Regions from separate parts of the Homo sapiens genome. Here all the other regions are linked to region 1. The links are contacts of gene promoters, found by promoter capture Hi-C in blood cells and fetal thymus (Javierre and others, 2016). All regions are on one chromosome and are shown on one strand. The core of a region is centred on a gene start or on the middle of the fragment in contact, and the rest is flanking DNA. Distances in the headings are between cores, read along the strand shown. Region 1 holds the start of H4C3 (H4 clustered histone 3). Region 2 holds the start of TRX-CAT1-4 (tRNA-iMet (anticodon CAT) 1-4). Region 3 has its middle 2.1 kb from the start of TRS-GCT6-1.

The links. The method cuts DNA at HindIII sites, captures the fragments that hold promoters and counts their contacts. A CHiCAGO score of 5 or more calls a contact.
Region 2: a fragment that was not itself captured here is called in contact with the fragment with the promoter of H4C3 in region 1 in 1 of 17 cell types (monocytes); the score reaches 5.3 in monocytes.
Region 3: a contact is called between a fragment that was not itself captured here and the fragment with the promoter of H4C3 in region 1, in 1 of 17 cell types (monocytes). The highest score is 5.3, in monocytes.

The regions. Positions count from the first base shown.
Region 1 is chr6:26,102,287-26,105,479 of GRCh38, forward strand. It overlaps H4C3 (H4 clustered histone 3), which reads left to right and starts at 1,647. Exons shown (of 1, transcript NM_003542.4): 1 at 1,647-2,051. The coding sequence starts at 1,662. The coding sequence ends at 1,973. RefSeq lists enhancers at 1,185-1,294, 1,319-2,009. The HindIII fragment of the contact is 10,429 bases long and covers 1-3,193 here.
Region 2 is chr6:26,328,588-26,331,780 of GRCh38, forward strand. It overlaps TRX-CAT1-4 (tRNA-iMet (anticodon CAT) 1-4), which reads right to left and starts at 1,785; the gene lies at 1,714-1,785. TRW-CCA3-2 (tRNA-Trp (anticodon CCA) 3-2) reads right to left here and starts at 2,928; the gene lies at 2,857-2,928. LOC101928743 (a long non-coding RNA gene) reads right to left here. Exons shown (of 3, transcript XR_241992.5): 1 at 3,140-3,193; 2 at 423-500. The HindIII fragment of the contact is 1,422 bases long and covers 1,021-2,442 here.
Region 3 is chr6:26,306,123-26,309,315 of GRCh38, forward strand. No RefSeq gene overlaps it. Among named protein-coding and RNA genes, the nearest start is that of TRS-GCT6-1, 2.1 kb to the left of the region's middle. The HindIII fragment of the contact is 1,384 bases long and covers 937-2,320 here.

The DNA of each region.
Region 1 (3,193 bases), core at 397-2,896:
GAAAAGTTTAGAAAGGAGATATTAGGAGCAGGAAATAGAAAGTAAATAAAATATCAAAATAAAAATGGGGTTTTATAAATGATATAATAGGCAAAATAAAGGAAAGGCATCCTAGACCTCTGGTTAAAATGAAGATGGCACTTGGCGAGATGTGTTCCAGGGTAGTTCACATGATGTATGTTTTCAGAGAATTGTCATATTGCATATGCTGCTATATTTTTTATTTTCATGAATTAAAAGGCATGTTGAGATTTCAGAGTTTTACTTATGATCTCAGACTCTGCATTTTTTCTCTGTAATGTTTGACATTTCTTCCTAGCTAAGTCTCTAGTTATAAGGTCTGTGTTGTGGCATGTGGACAGTGAGTGGAAGAACCTAAGAACTCAATTTGGGGCAGAAGAATGTAATCAATTATTTCAGAAGTGATACAAACAATATGACATGTAGAGCATTCTGGCCTTTCCTGGGTCTTTTTTCTCCATTCCTGGATTTCTTCTCTTCATGTGAGCAAGTCTGAGGTTACTATATAATGTCTCTCACAGGCCACAGCCCCATTCTAAATATTCCCAATAGAAATTCATTTATTAACCAGAGAGTGGTGGGTGGGGTTGTTTTTGTTTTTTAAACAAAAGTGGATCTTATGGGCATTCTGGAAAGCTCCCGCAGGAAGCTAAGAATAAAATTTTGAATTGAGAAGTCCCTTTCTTCAAACCACATTCAGACCCAATTCTGCTATTCTATTTATTTTTCAAGGGGATTAGCCTTATTTTAACACCAATAATCTTATCACAAAAACCTCCCAGAGGAAGACCCTGTAGATTTTGTAATGACCTTAATCAAGTATTAGCCCTACACTTCAATTAATCCCCAACTGTACAAAACGAATGTTCTTTTCTCTAAAGCTGTAGCAAGTTGAAAGGGGATTAAAAACGGAGGGAAGGGAAGAGTGTTTGGAATTTCAGGCACAGCAAACAGGCACAGCAGACCAGGAAGAGCGTCCCGGGAAAACATATTATCCAGACTTAAGTTTATATTCCCTGTCTCTCTCAGACTTTTGCAGAAAAATGAGTCATTCAACAAATATTTGAATCGAGATAGGGAAAGTGACGAGGAAGAAGTTTGCACTTATGAGGTTTTAATTTGCAATTATTTGGCTACCTTTTTGCCTTCCCAAAACATAGGGTCTTTAGGAGTGAAACTTCATAGCCAAACTTATACCTTGTCCAGCACAGAGAAGGCCATCAAAATGCCTGGTTTAAATAAAAATATTAAAATGATTGGGAGGGTAAATCCCTTGACCTATAAATCTGACCTCCTTTAAACATTATTTGTATGTTCCCCAATAAACTATTCCGTAATTTATTAGTTAGCAAGTGGAAATAAAAAGAAATGTGGAATGGGGCTATGCTTAGCGTCATTAAGCTGACAGGAATACAGCGCATTCAACTTGCAAACACCCTTCCACTCCCACAAAGAGCAAGCTGTCACTGGCCAATCAAAACAATGAACCATAATGAAACAGTTTTTCTTGCTCCACCCACTTGGTGACCAAATTTGAAAAAAAAAAAAAACCGCGCCAACTCATGTTGTTTTCAATCAGGTCCGCCAAGTTTGTATTTAAGGAACTGTTTCAGTTCATACCTTCCACTGCGATAGGAATCATGTCTGGTCGCGGCAAAGGCGGAAAAGGCTTGGGGAAGGGTGGTGCTAAGCGCCATCGTAAGGTGCTCCGGGATAACATCCAGGGCATTACAAAACCGGCTATTCGCCGTTTGGCTCGGCGCGGTGGCGTCAAGCGCATTTCCGGTCTTATCTATGAGGAGACTCGAGGTGTGCTTAAGGTTTTCTTAGAGAACGTTATTCGAGACGCCGTCACCTATACGGAGCACGCCAAGCGCAAAACTGTCACAGCCATGGATGTAGTATATGCCCTAAAACGTCAGGGGCGCACTCTGTATGGCTTCGGCGGCTGAATCTAAGAATACGCGGTCTCCTGAGAACTTCAAAAAACAAAAACAAAAAAACCCAAAGGCCCTTTTCAGGGCCGCTCACAAAGTCGTTTAAAGAGCTGAAATGCGTTGCGAGAATGAGTTTGGATGACAGAAATAACCGTGACATCCTGCATAAGAATGAATTGTGTTTGCCATGACCGGCCACACTGTGACAAAATTTCAAAGCATAAAGTAGGCATAGAGAGGTAAGCGCTAATAAAGTGATTGGCTCCACAAAAAGCATTTTGCTGGGCGCAGTGGCTCACGACTGTAATCCCAGCACTTTGGGAGGCCAAAGCTAGTGTATCACTTGAGATCAAGAATCCGAGACCAGCCTGGCCAAAATGGTGAAACCCCCTCTACCAAAAAAAATACAAAACTTAGCCGGGCGTGGTGGTCTGCACCTGTAGGCCCAGCTAGCCCGGAAGCAGAGATTGCAGTGAGCCGAGATCGCGCCACTCCCCTCCAGCCTGGGAGACAGAGAGAGACTCCTCAAAAAAAAAAAAAAAAAAAAAAAAAAAAATTATGTATTTTAGAGCATTCTAAGAATGGTACTTTGGACTTAACCGAAGGGCTGGAGGCGCGTGTTGAACAAAGGTTATCACCTTTTGGCTCATGCGGCACACAGCTATGTAAATAAAGCATCTTTAGGGACAAGCTCTCATTTGCGGAGGGTTCTATGGCTGTTGTCCTATTGGCCAAAACAAAGTGGTCTAAGTCCGGGCGCGGTGGCTCACGCCTGTATTCCCAGCAGTTTGGTAGGCCAAGGTGGGTGGATCACGAGGTCTGGCGTTCAAGACCAGCCTGGCCAAGATGGTGAAACCCCGTCTACTAAAAATACAAAAATTAGCCGGGCGTGGTGGCGGGCACCTGTAATCCCAGCTACGTGGGAGGCTGAGCCAGAGAACTGCTTGAACCCAGGAGGCAGAGGTTGCAGTGAACCGAGATTGTGCCACTGCACTCTAGCCTGGGTGACAGAGCGAGGCTCCATCCAAAACAAAACAAAACAAAAAAGTGGTCTAATAATCCCCAGAACTGGAGGAAGAACCATAACTTATTGATTTTGTTTTTAACCTTATGTATGCCAGGCATGCTAGCCTTGTATACATACAAGGCTAGAGGAGCAAAGGTGCAGGAAGCCATCTTGAGGGAGTCCCATATTATTGAGAGACCGGCCAGCTGCTGGGAGAGGCTAGTTGTTC
Region 2 (3,193 bases), core at 482-2,981, 230 kb after region 1:
CTCCAGAGTAGCTGGGATTACAGGCATGTGCCACGACACCCAGCTAATTATTTTTGTATTTTTAATAGAGAGGAGGTTTCGCCATGTTGGCCAGGCTGGTCTGGAACTCCTGATCTCAAGTGATCAGCCCGCCTCGCCCTCCCAAAGTGCTAGATTACAGGCGTGAGCCACCACGTCCGTTTGGGAAAACCTTGTGTCATTCTGTGAGAGTTACGATTGAGAATTCACAAACAGAAAATTTCTAGATAGCAAACAATTTTGGTTTCTTTTCTATCCTTTTCGCATACTCATAATTTCAAGAATCACTTGAAACAAAAATCAAGTCTCTTCTCTGCTCCCTGTCCTCTAGCAATTTTTAAAGTTATTGAAACATATTCCTGATTTGCATTATAGAAAACACCCAAAGAACATTCTCAGCTTACCACATATGCGCCTGAACTTGAAGTTTGTTGATTCCTTCTAAGTTTTGTTGGCAGGACGTGAACTCAGCTATTAAATTCCTGGTAAAGCGAGAGGTACAATATGTGACATATAATAACATGTACGACGTTTAAGAAAACTTTTGGCACCTATAGTCGTGGCTGAGTGGTTAAGCCTACTTTTTAAACATTTAAATAGCTTATTTTAAAATTATTTACCTACATATCTCTAAATAATATGTTTGTATGGACCTTCTGTTGACTTTATATAAGAGGAGTAACTGGTTCACTTTCTTCTTCACACCCCAGGACCCCCGACACACACATGCTCCCTTTCTAAGTCTTCTCATATGGTTATAGCACAATACATGATACTTTAATATTTGTAGCTTAAAATATGACAACTTTATAAACATAATTCAACAAGTGGGCAAAGAAATACATTGTTAAGTTTTCCTTTCCTTGCAATTTTTATTTTTCCCCGGCATTAGTACATAACTGTCTTTTCTTGTTGTTTTACTGCTTAAGCTTCTAGACACTTTTCATTAATTCAACCCCAAGCATTTCGTCAGTTGTCTAAACATTTCTCCAAAAGTTCAAAAGCTTTGCACAGTCTGTAGATTTCATCCTACTTTAAACATGTCTCCTTATGCATCTGTATTAGTTTGAGTAAACAGAAAAATAAGAACAGGAAAAAAAGTGTCACCTACAGCCTGCTCAAATCTGGACATGTTACTATATGTCACATATGGTACCTCTCATTTTACTAGGGATTTAATAATACTAGGTGAGTTCATGTCCTACTAATAAAACTCGGAAGGAATAGCTGAAATAACTTTTGAAGTTTGCTGTAAATATTAGTGTTTGTAATTATGCAGAACGGCGGTTTAGAGTTTTATCTTTGCTCTACCATTTACTAGCTGCATGACTTTGGGCAAGTTAGTTAACCTCTGCAAACCCCAACTTGCAGACAAACCCCAATTTGTCTCATTTGTAAAGTAAGAGTAATAGCAAGTATTTACTTCGTAGAATTGCGAGGAATAAATGATTCAGAACTTGGAATAGTGCATGGTATCTATTAACTGTTCAAACAATCAAAGCTAAAACTACTGCTTTTGTTATTTTTAATCTAATTAGGATAGTAATGTATTGCAACCAGAGATATAGATCTCTGAGAGAGGTGCAAATCAAAATAAGTTCCCTTACGGTGTCCATGACAATTATACCAATTTCCTCCTCCTATGAGGTAGATCTATTTTTGGAAGGGGGAAAAACAAATCCACAAAACGCTCCCTAGCAGAGGATGGTTTCGATCCATCGACCTCTGGGTTATGGGCCCAGCACGCTTCCGCTGCGCCACTCTGCTACGCGAGTCACAGGTCCCAGAGTTAATAGTCACCTTTTTTCTAGCGTGTCAAGTTTCCAAATCTCAAAATTATGTCTTCTCTCTTTTTTTTTTTTCCAGAGCAGTAATCTGTTCGTAATATGGCCATAGGCTTAGACTACTACTAAGAAAAGAGTTAATAAGAAATAGGAAAAAGGTTATTTTAGGTACACTTCTCCGATGTAATGTTTGTCACTGTGTATTGTGTGAATGTGTACAGTAAATACATAAGAGAAAATCTGCTAATATTTCAAATGTCATGTTTTAAAGTCATTGTAAGTTATAAAAATTTAAACACTTCTGAAGAAATAAACGTACTTTTCCTTTTTTCCATGTTGTAATTTGCTAATTCATAATCTGTAGGGGGTCTTGAGCCACATGTGGGGAAAAAAACGGCACATTCATGCACATTTTCAGATAATACTATAAGGGGGTTCACGGAATAGCTAGCCTTCTCTGATGTAATGGTTCATTCCCTGTATGAATTTGAGAAAGTAACTGCATTCAGGTTTTCTGCCTCTGGAAATCAAGTGACTTCTTCCGTGATTTGCAGGGAGGGTTGAGGAAATCGCAGAGATCCAGGGAAGTTCAATGGAATCGCTTTAGCCTGGAACAGCTGATCCAAATATGAAGCAGGTAAGCTTAGGTCATCCACTCAAACCAGACTACGTCTCTGCGAAGATCTGCTAAGCTTCTGAAGGTTGGAGAGACAGACATGGATGAAAAGATAAGGCCGCGGGCGTGGGAGTGAGTATGGAGAGAAGTCCAGGAGGGTTTAACAATAGGGATGAGTTGCTGAAGAGTATAATTCAGAATGTTTGCAATAAAAGAGTGAAAACGTCTCTATAAACCCGGAAATAAGCCCCAAAATACCATAACATATTCCTGTATATATCTTCCTACTAAAAAAAGAGAAGGGGGTAGTTTTGAGGAGGCTAAAGTAACTGAGTATACAAGTGCCTAAGAGAAGCAGGAAAAGCAACTTTTTTCCCCCTGTAATATGTAATGTACTCCCCGCCATACAGTTATCTGAGCCAGCGAGCTAAAAACTGTTGACCCCGACGTGATTTGAACACGCAACCTTCTGATCTGGAGTCAGACGCGCTACCGTTGCGCCACGAGGTCTCCGGGACACCTACGTTTTATTTACCTGTCAATCTGATTCATGAAAATAATTTCGGTACTGGTGAAGACCAGGCAGCTATTAACAGATACAAAATAGTGCCTAGCTGCTTCCCTCTCGGTAAAATTGCTGTCCGCCCAATCACTGATTTTCTCTGCCTCTGAATTGCTTCATTTTCACCTGTTCTTGTTTATATTTCATTCCGTTTCTTACCTAGTTTTCCCTGTATATTCCAAATATAGACGTCTTGGGAGTTTCGTTGTTTTT
Region 3 (3,193 bases), core at 379-2,878, 200 kb after region 1:
TGCTTATTTTGCACAAAGAAATGTGATGAAAATGATACTTAGTGTTGTCATTTTTATTATCTGTTTGTATTTCATTTAAATTCTAAATTAAAAAAATAAATTTATTTTTATAGAGACAGGGTCTCACTATGTCACTCTGTTGCACAGGCTAGCCTCAAACTCCTAGGCTCAAGCAATCCACCCACCTTGGTTTACCCAAAGTACTGGGATTACAGGCATGAGCCACCATGTCCAACCTTTCTTTGGTTGTTTCTGACTCATTTCATCACAATCAGAGAAGTCAGTCTGATGCTAATGTTCTGTGAAATTAGGCAAAACAGAAGAACCCCATGACTTAGCAGTGACTGCCTGGCCGATTCCTGACAATATGCAGGCCTAGTGAATACGGTCAGACCAGTTCCTGGATACCAGGGGCTGTTTTCTCACCTATACCCAATAAAATTACAAAAACAATAATATTGTGTATGTGTGTGTTTTGACATGATGTAGCATTAAAAAAATAAGGCCGGGCACAGTGGCTCACACCTGTAATCCCAGCACTTTGGGAGGCCAAGGCTGGAGGATCGCTTAGGCAACATGACGAAACCCCGACTCCACAAAATATACAAAAAATTAACCGAGTGTGGTGGCTGGTGCCTGTAGTCCCAGCTACTTGGAAGGCTGTGTTGAGAGGATCAGCTGAGCCTGGGAGGGCGAGGCTGCATCAAGCCATAATCACACTACTGCACTCCAGCCTGGGTAACAGAGTGACAGAGTAAGACCCTGTCTCAAAAGCAAAGCAAAGCAAAGCAAAGCAATTAAGAATATGATCAAGATTCAAACTGTATCCCCTAGGGAGTTACCAAGGAATTACCTAACAAATATCAGACATATTAGGTATCAAATCACCATCAAAACATAGCAGGCCAGGAAATGTACGAATTTTCATTTTTTTAAAGCTTCAGTTAGCAACAAATTCTAAAGTGTTCTGAAAAGAAAAACTATTGCTTGGTCTTGATTGTGTTTGGATTAGAAATTATAAAGCATGATAAACAAACCTGGACCTGAAGGGTTCATTAGTTCTTTGATTCATTCAATGTTTTGATGAATATTTATTGAGCATTGCGTATGTTCCAGGCATTGTTCTAAGAACAAATGTATATGCCACACACAAAATTCCCTGCCCTGGTGAAACCTAATTATGTAGAAATAAGCAATAAACAACTTATAAAGCAAAATATAGGCCAAGCACAGTGGCTCACACCTATAATCATAGCACTTTGGAAAGCCAAGGCAGGCAGATTCCTTGAACTCAGGAGTTTGAGACCAGCCTAGGCAACATGGTGAAACCTCATCTCTACAAAAAATACCAAAATTAGCTGGGCGTGGCGGTGCACATCTGTAGTCCCAGCTACTCAGGAGGCTGAGGAGGGAGGATCGCTTGAACCCAGGAGGTCGAAGTTCAGTGAGCCAAGATTGCACCACTGCACTCCAGCCTGGATGGCAAAGTGAGACCTTGTCTCACCAAAAAAAAAAAAGCAAAATACACAGTATGTCAGAGGATGGTATATGCATAGGAGTGGTGGCAAGTTAAATAGGGTGGTCAGGGGAAAATTAGCTCAGTGGTTTTCCATGCTGCACATTTGAATCCATAGGGAACTTTTGAGAAGGATTCATGTCAGGGCATTATCCCTATAGATTCTAATTCACTTGTTCAGTCATGATATTAAAAGAGAGTAGCAGTCAAGCTCTTCAATACTGGCTTGATCATAAAGGAAGATACACAATGGAAAACTAGTTTTAAAAAGGTGAGGCAAGAGATAATTTTCCCAATCCAAAAGGTACCAGGAATTGCTCCCAATACAGCACTTCCTGACCAAGCAAAAGAAGGTGTCTGCAAAATATCAGTCATAGCATTAGACCAGCTCCAATTAGGGCTTATTCTGCCCTGAGGTCTTTACAGTGTTTAACAGTGTGGTGGCCACACTTCCTGTGTAAACTCCTCCCTTTGAATGTTGGCTGGATCTAGTGACCTGCTCCTAACCTACAGAATATAAAAAATGTGATAGGATATTACTTTCATGATATCTCATGTGAGATATGTGTCTGTTGTTTTAAGCTGCCAATTTGGGTGCAATTTGTTATACAACAGATAACTAATACATGCAGGAAGGCCTGATCAGCCAGAGAGCAGTGGATCCTATGGCTGAAAGGGAGTATAGTTGAGAATGTAAAAATACAAGACATCATTGCCATAAATTTGCCAAGTCTGAGTTCAGATGCTAATCATTACATCATAGACCCTTTCCATAAGATTCTCCTATTGAAAGACTTGTGTATAAGCTTGGTGTAAATCTATACATTATCTTTTTTAAAAAAGCCATGACCAATAGATTAAATCTAAAGAGCATTAACAAATGCCTGCTATTTATTAATAAAGGGTATGGTAGGCTAAATAATGACCCCCAAAATAGGTCCACAACCAATCACCAGAACCTGTGAATAAGTTACCTTATGTTACCTTAAGTGGTCAAAGGAATTTTGCAGATGGGATTTCATTGAAGATTTTGAGATGGGGAGATTATCTTGGATTATCTAAGTGGGTCCAATGTAATCAAGAGGGTCCTATAAAAGGAAGGCAGGAGGTTCAGAGTCAGGAAAAGAAAATGTGACTACAGAAGCAAGAAGTGATGCAAGGAAGGGGCCACTAGAAGCTGAAAACGCCAGGAAAATGAATTATCTCATGATGTCTCCAGAAGATACACAGCCCTGCTAATACTTTTATTGTAGACTTCTGATATCCAAAACTGCAAAAAAACATTTAATTCACGTTGTCTTAGCCAGGGATGGTGGTGTGCACCTGCAGTCCTAGCTACTTGGGAGGCTGACAGGGAACGATTACTTGAACCCAGGAGTTTGAGGCTGCAATGAGCTATGATTGTGCCACTACAGTCCAGCCTGAGTGATAGTGTAAGACCCTATTTTAAAAAATAAATAGGCCGGATGCGGTGGCTCACGCCTGTAACCCCAGCACTTTGGGAGGTTGAGGCGGTCAGATCAAGGTCAGGAGGTCGAGACAAGCCTGGCCAACATAGTGAAACCCCGTCCCTACTAAAAGTACAAAAAATTAGCCGGGCTTTGTGGCGGGTGCCTGTAATCCCAGCTACTCAGGAGGCTGAGGCAGGAGAATGTCTTGAACCCGGGAGGTGGAGGT